Regions from separate parts of the Homo sapiens genome. Here regions 1 and 2 are each linked to region 3. The links are contacts of gene promoters, found by promoter capture Hi-C in blood cells and fetal thymus (Javierre and others, 2016). All regions are on one chromosome and are shown on one strand. The core of a region is centred on a gene start or on the middle of the fragment in contact, and the rest is flanking DNA. Distances in the headings are between cores, read along the strand shown.

Region 1 (3,373 bases), core at 604-3,103, 420 kb after region 3:
TTCATTGGCTTACCAGTTTTTAATTCTTAATTTGTAATCCCTTTTATATCCCAGATATGAGTCCTTTGTCATACATATAGGTATGTACATACACACACACACACACACACACACACACACACACACACACATATATCCTATTCTATGGCTTTCCTATTTATTCTCTTGATGGTGTCTTTTGATGAATGAGACTTGTTAATTTTAAGACTGACCATTCATATTTTTTTACTTTATTCATAGAGATTTTTGCGTCCTCTTAAGAAATATTTACCTAGTGTAAGATCATAAAGATTTTCTCCTGTTTTCTTCTAAAAGTCCTTTTTTTTTAAGATGAGGTCTTGCTCTGTCGCCCAGGCTGGAGTGCAGTGGCACGATCAGAATTCACTGTAGCCTTGAACTTTTGGGCTTAAGCGATCCTAACACCTGACCTCCCAAAGTGCTGGGATTATAGGCATGGGTCACTTTGCCCACCCAGCAAGCTTTATTGCTTTACCTTCCACTTTTAAATGTATTCCATCATAACGCATTTGCAATTGATTTTTGAGTATAGCATGTGATAGGAGTCAAGGTTTATTTAGTTTTCCATATGGATATCCTTGACCCAGCTCCATCTGTAAGCCCATCTCTGCCCCTACTCATCTGCAATGTCACCTTTGATATAAATCAGGTTGTTTATAACATACATACAATGCAATTGTGAGTTCCAGGGCCACCTTTTTGAGGAACTCAAGCGAGGACACTGCTCTTCACAGCTGAGCATCCATTCCTCCTCACCCACAAACAGCCGCCCCTTGGCCACTGCCCAGGCCTATGGGTGCCTACACCAGCAGTGCCACTGACCCTTGGGACATGGGCCCGGGGAGGAAGCCTGAGCAGGGCCAGGAAATAGGCTTTGATCTCTGGACAGTGAATTCTGGTTCCCGGATATCTGGCACATCCTAGAAACTGGGAGGGTGACAGTCTCCTGGTGGCCATTAACTCCTTGACCTCACAAACGTCTCATCTGTAGGGAAGAATGTGGCTAGAGCAGGGCCGGAGTGAGAGCCTCTAAAGTTTTCTTACGTGGGCTTAAGAGTGGTGCTCCTAAAAAGCAAGCCTCAAAATCCTGAACTACTCCTCCCTTCATGTCTTTTCTTTGTGTCCTATACTTAGACCCCCAAACAACTTAAAATGGGTTTTCCCTACATGGGTTACATTGGTCTGTTTATTACATTGGTTAATTTTTCCCTTCTTATGCTAAAACCATGCTTCCTTAATTGCTACAGCTTTGTACTTACATACTATAACTTTGATAGTCAGGTCTTGATACCTGGTAGTGTAAATCCTCCAACTTTCTTAAAGATTACCTTTGCTATTCTTTTTTTTTTTTCTTTTTGAGTCAGAGTTTCTTTTTCTTTTTTCTTTTTTTTCTTTTTGAGTTGGAGTCTCACTCTGTCGCCCAGGCTGGAGTGCAATGGCGCAATCTTCAGCTCATTGCAACCTCTACCTCCCCAGTTCAAGTAATTCTCCTGCCTCAGCCTCCCGAGTAGCTGGGATTACAGGTGCATGCCACCATGGAATCTTAAAATCTTAAAAATCTTAAAAATCATGCCACCATGAAAATCTTTAAAAAGATTTTCAGTCTTTTTTAAAAAACATATGGCCGGCTAATTTTTTTGTACTTTTAGTAGAACTGGGGTTTCACCATGTTGCCTAGACTGGTCTCGAACTCCTAACCTCGGGCAATTTGCCCGCCTCGGCCTCTCAAAGTGCTGGGATTACAGGCATGAGCCACCGCGCCCAGCCAGTCCCTTGCATTTCTATATAAATTTTTGAATTACCTTGTCAATTTCCATGAATGGCTCTGCAGAGATTTTGTTTGGGATTGTATTGAATCTATAGATCAATTTGACACCTTAACAATTTTGAGTCTTTCAGTCATGAACATGGTACATCCTTTCATTTATTTTATGCTTTTAAATTTTCTCTCGATTATGCTTTGTAATTTTCAGTGTAGAGGCAATGCACAGCTTTCATTAGATACTCCTAATTATTTCACATTTATATTGATGCTACTGTAAATCGTATCTTTTAAAAATTTTTTTTCTATTTCTTTGTTGTTGACATACAGAAATACAATTTATATCTGTATATATACCTTGTATCTAGTGACTTTACAATGTTCAGTTATTCATTCAATTAGTATAGGTTCTTCAGGATCCACTATGTATAGAACCATATCATATGGGAAAAGTGACAGTTTTATTTTTTTCAAATTTTCCCTTAATAAACGGGTTATTTGATGGTACTATAAATGAAATTGTTTTCTTAATTTTTTCTTGGATTATTTTGGGCTGTTCCAAAAGTTTGCTGAATTTGTTTATTAATTCTATTAATTCTAATTTGTTTATTAATTCTAACATTTCGTGGGTATGTATGTGTGGGTAGTCCTTAAGGGTTTTTTTGGTAGAATTTTCTACATATATGTTATCTGCGAATAGAATCAATCTCTTTAATAGGTGTGAAATTATTCAGATTTTGTATTTCTGTGTCATTTTTGGTAAACTGGATTTTTCAAGGAAGTAGTCTATTTTGTCCACACGTCAAATTCATTTGCAAAAATTGATCATAGGATCTTCTTTCTTTCTTTCTTTTTTTGAGACGGAGTTTCGCTCTTGTTGCTCAGGCTGGAGTGCAGTGGCGCGATCTTGGCTCACGGCAACCTCCGCCTCCCGGGTTCAAGACCGTCTCCTGCCTCAGCCTCCCGAGTAGCTGGGATTACAGGCGTGCGCCACCACGCCCAGCTGATTTTTTGTATTTTTAGTAGAGGCAGGGTTTCTCCATGTTGGTCAAGCCGATCTCAAACTCCCGACCTCTGGTGATCCACCCGCCTCGGCCTCCCAAAGTGCTGGGATGACAGGCGTGAGCCACCGCGCCTGGCCGGATCTTATTGTTTTTAATACCTTCAGGATCTCTAGTGATGTTTCTTTTTTCATTAAAAAATTTGTTTAAAAATATTTTTAAATCTTCTTGCATCTGACCTTTTTCATTTTAACTTTGATTGTTCTTCCTTTCATTTGTTGGTCTTGAATGCTTAACAATTTTAAATTTTTTAAAATATATCCCCTTTGCCTTTGATTTCTTTATTGTACATTTATTTTCTACTTCCTTGATTTCTTCCCTTAGGATTTATTTCCTTTTACTTACTTTGGGTTTTGCTTATTATTCTTTTTCTAGTTTCATGAGATGGAAGCTTAATTGATTTTCAGTCTTCTTTTAAAAACATACGTACTTGGCCCACGCCTGTAATCCCAGCACTTTGGGAGGCCGAGGCGGGCGGATCACGAGGTCAGGAGATCGAGACCATCGTGGCTAACACGGTGAAACCCCGTCT
Region 2 (3,367 bases), core at 781-3,280, 400 kb after region 3:
GTGGGAGGTGGGCAGGTATCTCGTCTCTTTAGCTTCAGAAATCCACAGATCAATTGGAACTGTGCTTAAGGAGCTGTACTTGGGGAACTACACCTGATGTATCTCAACCATACCTGGACCTGATTTAGATGATGGGATTCTGGACTTAGAGCTGATGTTATGAGGTGAGGCTCTGGGGACTCTTGGAGAGTTGTAGATGTATTTGCCATGAGGGAGGGATGTGAATCACTGGGGACCAGAGAGCAGACTATGGTAGGCAGCTTCCTAGGATGGTCTCCAGTGATCTCCACTTCCTGGTATTCAACCTCTTGTGTAATCCCCTCCCCTTAAGTGTGGCCTGGACCTGTTGCTTGCTTTTCATGAATAGAATATGGAAAAAGTGATGGAATATTATTACTGGAAAGGGGTCCCGATCCAGACCCCAAGAGAAGGTTCTTGGATCTCACACAAAAAAAGAGTTCAAAGTGAATTCATAGAGTAAAGTGACAGCAAGCTTATTAAGAAAGTAAAGGAATAAAAGAATGGCTACTCCATAGGCAGAGCAGTGGTGTGGGCTGCTCGACTAAGAACACTTACGGTTCTTTCTTGATTATATGCTAAACAAGGGGTGGATTATTCATGAGTTTTCCAGGAAAGGGGAGGACAATTCCCAGAACTGAGGTTTCCTCCCCTTTTTAGACCATGCAGGGTAACTTCCAGACATTGCTAAGGCATTTGTAAACTGTCATGGCACTGATGGGAATGTCTTCTAGCATGCTAACGCATTATAATTCGTGGATAACGAGCAGTGAGAATGACCAGAGGTCACTTTCATTGCCATCTTGGGTTTGGTAGGTTTTGGCTGGCTTCTTTACTGCAAACTGTTTTATCAGCAAGGTCTTTGTACTTTGTGCTGATCTCCTATGTCATCCTATGACTAAGAATGCCTAACCTCCTGGGAATGCACCCCAATAGGTCTCAGCCTAATTTTACCCAGCCCCTATTCAATATGGAGTCGCTCTGGTTCAAACACCTCTGACAATATTACTTCAAAGATTAAGTTACAAAAGACTGTGGCTTTTTTCTTGCTTACCATCTCTTACCCTCTTTCTTGCTCACTGTAGTGAGGCCAGCAGGCATGTTGTAAACTGCCCAATGGAAAAGCCTATGTAGTAAGGAACCAAGAGAGGCTTCCAGCCAACAGCTTTTGAGGAATTGAAGCTTTAGTCTAATAACCCATGTAGAAACTGGCCAACAACCATGTGAGAGTGCTTGGAAGCTGATCTATCCCTAATCAAGCCTGAAGGTAACTGCAGCCCTGCTGACACCTTGACTGCAACCAGAGCCCAAGGATCCAGCTACGTTATGTCCAGATTCCTGACTCAAAGAATCTATGAGCTAATAAACGTAGGGGTTTTAAGCCACTAAGCTCTGGAGCAATTCGTTATGCAGCAACAGAGTGTGTAATAATTACCCTCAAACATAGCAGCTTAAAATAACAAGCATTTATTACCTCAGTTTCTGAGGATCAGGAATCCACCTGCAGCTTAGCTGGGTGGTTCTGGCTCAGAGTGTCTCACGAGGGTGTAGTCAAGCTATCCGCCTGAGCTGCAACATCTCAAGGCCTGACTGAGGCTGGAGAATCCACTTCCAAGCTCACTGTATGGTTGTTGGGAGGCCAGACACTCAGTTCTTTCCATATAGGTTTCTCCACAGGGCTACCTCACAACATAGCAACTGGCTTCCCCCAGAGCAAGTGGTCAGAGAGAGATCTCAAGACTGGCTGTCGTCTTTTTGTAATCTATTCTCAGACGTGACATGCTATCACTCTTGCCTATGATGTTGGACACACAGATTAAACTTAGTGTAACATGGGAGGGGACTACACAAGATTGTAAATACTAGGTGTCAGGGATTATTGGGGGCCATCTTGAAGGCTCATTACCAACTTCCTGTGTCCATTTCTCTTCTTCCCATTAGTTTTATCTAAGAATAGGCCAACCTGTCAGAGATTACGTTCTCTGGACTCCTTTTTAGCTAGATTGGTAGTGTGACTACATTCTGACTAAAGGCACACATATGGAATAAAGTCATGTGACTTTGGGGTTATGCCCTTAAAAAGGATTTTGTTTCTCTCCCCCATTTTTCTCTCATACCATGGGCTGGAACATAGGTATAGTGAGACTATGCAGGTAACACCCTAAGGGATGGCTACGAAAACAAAAAAGAATTTGGCTCCTTGAATTAACTCATAGGTTGCAGCAGCCTACATCACTTGGACATCCTGCCAGCTTTGGATTTTCAGAGAAATAAACCTATCTTATGTAAGTTCCTATACTTAATCATTTTTAGGTAGTTGAATCTCCTAAAAAAAACACTACAATCAGCCCACTATTGAACTGACCCAAGGATATTCAGACTACAGAATCCAGAGATAAATCAAGCACATTTCAGAATTTAATGTAAGACAATGGCACAGTATTTCAATTTAATGAGAAAATGATAGCTTATTAAATAAATTATCATGTTGATATTACCAGACAAGTTTACATAAACAAGAGACATCTTTCTGACTGTGATTCCAACCTTGCTGTCTAGTACAGTAATGATGCTCACCTTCCTCCTGACATTTAGGAGCTGTCATATGGCCCTTACTGTGCTGGGATCCTATGCTCCCCATTGCTAACAGGAAGTCCAGTTCTGTAACAGCATCCCCACCATTCTTCTTGACCTTCAGAAGACATTTGCTACCGTGCCTCTCATTGATGCTGCTGCCCTCCCACCAGTGCCTTCTTAGCTCTGATAAATGGAGTGTCTTTTTGAACTCTTTGTCCATAGTTCTGGCATCTCTGCTTCATTTAATGTGGGCCATTGATTTTTCCAAGCTTCTGAAGCTTTGCAGCGGTATATTAGAGCTTTCTTGTGGGGCTCATTGCAGGTGTTAAATCTTGTGTTATGTAAAAGATGCCCCCACCTTGAGAAGGCTTCTGTATTGGAGTTCTCCAGAGGGGGAGAACAAATAGGATGTATAGGATATACGGATATATCCTATATATATCCTATACATCCTATCAAATAGGATGTATAGGATATATAGATACATAGATATATATCTATGTATCCTAGGATATATCTATATATCTATATATATGTATCTATATATCTATATATCCTAGGATACATAGATATATCCTATATATTTGTATAGGATATATAGGATGTATAGGATATATAGATGTATAGGATGTATAGGATATATAGATATATCCTATATGATATATGTGATATATCATATATCACATATATGTATGTGTGTGTATATATATCTCTCTCCTATATCTATATCTCTATCTATCTATCTATCTACAGGAGTTTATTAGGGAAAACT
Region 3 (3,774 bases), core at 269-2,768:
AGCCAAGGCCTTTGGACTATAAATCGATCTTATTCTACGTTAATAACAATATTAGCACAGGATTCTATTCCCTTGCTGGATATTATTTACATTTGATAATGAATGAACTAATTCTCTTTGACAGCAAAACATGTATTCAGCTTACAGCCGAAAATGCAAGGGAAGGTACACAATAAGACGGATCCAAGCCCTGACCCCTCTGAGCTTTAAGCCAGTCAAGTAACTACTTGTTCTGAAAAGTATTAACTGTCCTATTAACGTTAACCTTCACAACACAATGCCTTGTGTTCAACTGGCCTTGGCCTCAAAGCACTTTCCTGGCACATTCCCTGAATTTAAAGAACGGTTTCCATACAGCTGAGAGGGTCGAGGCAGGGGTAAGTGTAGAAGACGCAAGAAATGGAGACACCCTGGGAACAGAACTCTAGACTGCACTCCAACCGTAGCACTTACTAGGCATTCGACTCCAGGACCTTGACACTCGCGCTCGCTGGCGGCGAGCCCCGCCTCCCCACTGCGCCTCATCTCCCAGACAGGCCCCGCCTCCCCACTCAGGCCCCGCCTCCCCACTCAGGCCCGTCTCCTCACTCAGGCCACGCCTCCCCGCCCAGTCCCGTCTCCGTACTAGGGCTTGCTCCAAGCCCTGCTTCCTCGCCCAACCTGGCCTCCCCACTACGGCCTAACCCCAAGCCCTTCTCGTCCAGCCCCGTCTCCACACTACTGCCTGGTCCTCAACTCCGCCTCCCCACTCCGACCCCATCTCCCTGACCAGCCCCGCCTTTACGCTCAGGCTCCGCCTCCCCGCCGGGTCTTGCCTCCAAATCCCGGCCCCGCCTCCACGCGGCCCCGCCTCCACGCGGCCCCGCCTCCACGCTCGGCCTGGCCCCAAGCTCTTCCTTCCTGGGGCACTCTGTCTCCGCACTCCGGCCTGGTCCCGAGCCCCGCCCCGCCTCCACACGGCCCCGCCACCACACGGCCCCGCCTCCACGCGGCCCCGCCTCCACGCTCGGCCTGGCCCCAAGCTCTTCCTTCCTGGGGCACTCTGTCTCCGCACTCCGGCCTGGTCCCGAGCCCCGCCCCGCCTCCACACGGCCCCGCCTCCACACGGCCCCGCCTCCACACGGCCCCGCCTCCACACGGCCCCGCCTCCACACGGCCCCGCCTCCACACGGCCCCGCCTCCACACGGCCCCGCCTCCACACGGCCCCGCCTCCACACGGCCCCGCCTCCACACGGCCCCGCCTCCACGCTCGGCCTGGCCCCAAGCTCTTCCTTCCTGGGGCACCCTGCCTCCGCACTCCGCCCTGGTCCCGAGCCCCGCCCCGCCTCCACAGTCCCGAGCCCGCCTCCAACCCTGCCCTGTCCCCACACCCAGCTTGGCCCCGAGCCACGCCTCCCACCCCGCCCCCACACTCCCGAGCCCCGCCTCGTCTCCACACTCCGGCGGCGCCTCCCTACCCGGCCCCGCCTCCGCGCTCGGGCTGCCAGCCCTCCCTTGCACGTTCCGGCTCCTCTTCTATCTTCACGCCCACGCTAGGCCCTGAGCCCAGCCTCCACGTCTCGCCGCCAACTCCACATCCTGGCTCCTATCTCTGCCTTCCAGGCATCTCCCAGCTGCACGCTCGGGCCCGGCTCAGAGCCCTAAGCCCTGCCTCCCGGTCCTGGCCGGGTTTCCCAGAACTGCACGGCGCCTCTCCGCCCAGGCCCAAGCGCGAGCCCCTCCTCCACACCCGAGTCCGAGCCCCGCGTCCCGGATTCGGACCCGCCTGCCTGGGGCGGTGCTGCACCAGGTGCGGGTGTGGCAGGCGTCTCGGAGCGCCAGGTGCAGCTTCCTGGTCAAGATGGTCGCCGCCTGCCGCTCGGTAGCCGGGCTCCTGCCACGCCGCCGCCGCTGCTTTCCCGCCCGGGCCCCGCTGCTGCGCGTCGCCCTCTGCCTCCTGTGCTGGACCCCGGCGGCTGTGCGCGCGGTCCCTGAGCTCGGGCTCTGGTTAGAGACAGTCAACGACGTAAGTGGAGTGTCGGGACCCAGGCGTGGCACGTCTCGGGCCGTCAGGGCCGTCGTGCGGCTTCGCTTGACCCCGGGCTTGTTCACCCTGCCTCTGCCGGGTCAGCACCGGGTCCCCTGATACCCTCCCTGAGCCTTTTGTCTGTTACAGCCGGGGAGCGGGGAGCGGCCCCTCCTCCGGCCCGACCTGGGCTGCAGGCAAGAGCCGTCAGGATTGCGCATGGGACGGCCCTCGGGTCCGAGCGCTCGGACTGTTACTGAGGGTCACCATGCCCGACGCCGTGGCCCTCATTCTGCTCTGACATGTTTTGGCTGGATCAGGAATCTCTCGGCACATCTAGCAGCATCTTTGGGATTCGACTCTTCCTGTCCGGATGCAGCCACAGTGGGCCACACCCCTGAGGCCGCAGGGAGGACTTGCCAGCGCTTCAGTTTCTGCATAAACTTAGAAAGCGGGTCTGCCGCTTCCTTAAAAAAAAAAAAGAAAGAAAAAATTTAAATGAGGGGGAAACGTGCAGTAGTCACCCTACCTCTATTTCTCTCTTCTTGAGTTCCTGAATTTCTCTACAGTTCCTGTCACAGTTCCGGGAGAGAGAGTGTGTGTGTAGGTGGGGCGGGACTTGTGATTAGGGAGTGCTTGAAAGGCGAATCTGGAGGCATGAGTGGGTGGAAACTCTTCTTTCCAAGGCAGGCTATTAGAAAACTTGGCGTCTGGTAATTAGAGGAGATGATGTGGGAGAGATGCAGGGGCAGAATTATGGAAAGTCTTGCAAAAGAGAGACAGGAAGTCTGGAAGAGGCATTATCTCCGGCTTCTCTGGGGTCAGATGACTCATCCAGCACTGTTTGGGATGGGTATTTTCCACATGCATGAAATAATGTCCAGGTTCTAAAGATGAGACTTATATTTTGATTTCCTTAACCAGAAAAAGAAAGTAGTTCCAAAGACTACAAATACTTCCCACAACACAAAAGCTACTCAGAGGAACACGCTGGGTATCTTTCTGGATCTTTTAAGACCTAGTGCAGCCATTTCCTCCAGGATTGGATTCTTCTGGGTTGGTGACCTAATTTGTGTGCCAGTTATAGTCTGCACATCTCCATTATTTAATTTCCTGAACGGGAAAAAGTAGAACTCAGTGAACTACTCTCATGGCTTCCTGCTGCTACGATAGTGAATAGTCAATATAACTATATTGGAAGTGAATCAGTTGCATGCATATTGTTGGATTACTTGAACATATCTGTATAGATCTTTGCTAAGTGTACTGTGAACATACCTGCAAAGATCTTTGCCAAGTGTACTTCTTCCTGCATGAGGAAGAGAAGTTTGCTCCTTGAGTGCTGCATGACCTTTAGGCTAATTTTACTCCTGTGTGACCCTGGGCCGCCAGAAGTCTAAAAGCCCTTCTCTCCCAAGAGTGGACTTATATTTTCCACATTTCAGGTTGTCAGAAACAGGAAAGGAGAGTGGGGCTTTCTTTCATTTGTACTGCAAATCTATCAGGAAATTTTGTTTCTTTGTTTTTGTTTGTTTGAGACAGAGTCTTGTTCTGTTACCTAGGCTGGAGTGCAGTGGCACAGTCATATGGCTCACTGCAGCCTCAAACTCCTGGGCTCAAGCAATCCTCTAGTCTCAGTCTCCTGCGTAGCGAAGACTATAGGTACATGCCACACACCAGTTAATTTTTAAATTTTTTTGTAGAGATAGGGGTCTCACTATATTGTCAAGGCTGGTCTTTAACTGCTGGCCTCAAGCCATCCTCCTGC

What was found. Contacts are between HindIII fragments. The CHiCAGO score rates a contact against its expected background, and 5 or more counts as called.
Region 1: a fragment that was not itself captured here is called in contact with the fragment with the promoter of TMEM87B in region 3 in 7 of 17 cell types (non-activated CD4 T cells, fetal thymus, naive CD8 T cells and 4 more); the score reaches 7.8 in non-activated CD4 T cells.
Region 2: a contact is called between a fragment that was not itself captured here and the fragment with the promoter of TMEM87B in region 3, in 1 of 17 cell types (M1 macrophages). The highest score is 5.0, in M1 macrophages.

The regions. Positions count from the first base shown.
Region 1 is chr2:112,475,759-112,479,131 of GRCh38, forward strand. No RefSeq gene overlaps it. Among named protein-coding and RNA genes, the nearest start is that of TTL, 4.7 kb to the right of the region's middle. The HindIII fragment of the contact is 2,753 bases long and covers 478-3,230 here.
Region 2 is chr2:112,450,518-112,453,884 of GRCh38, forward strand. No RefSeq gene overlaps it. Among named protein-coding and RNA genes, the nearest start is that of RGPD8, 19 kb to the left of the region's middle. The HindIII fragment of the contact is 1,664 bases long and covers 1,199-2,862 here.
Region 3 is chr2:112,053,751-112,057,524 of GRCh38, forward strand. It overlaps TMEM87B (transmembrane protein 87B), which reads left to right and starts at 1,519. Exons shown (of 19, transcript NM_032824.3): 1 at 1,519-2,006. The coding sequence starts at 1,842. RefSeq lists silencers at 511-560, 761-1,490 and enhancers at 2,221-2,290, 2,321-2,660. The HindIII fragment of the contact is 6,387 bases long and covers 1-3,774 here.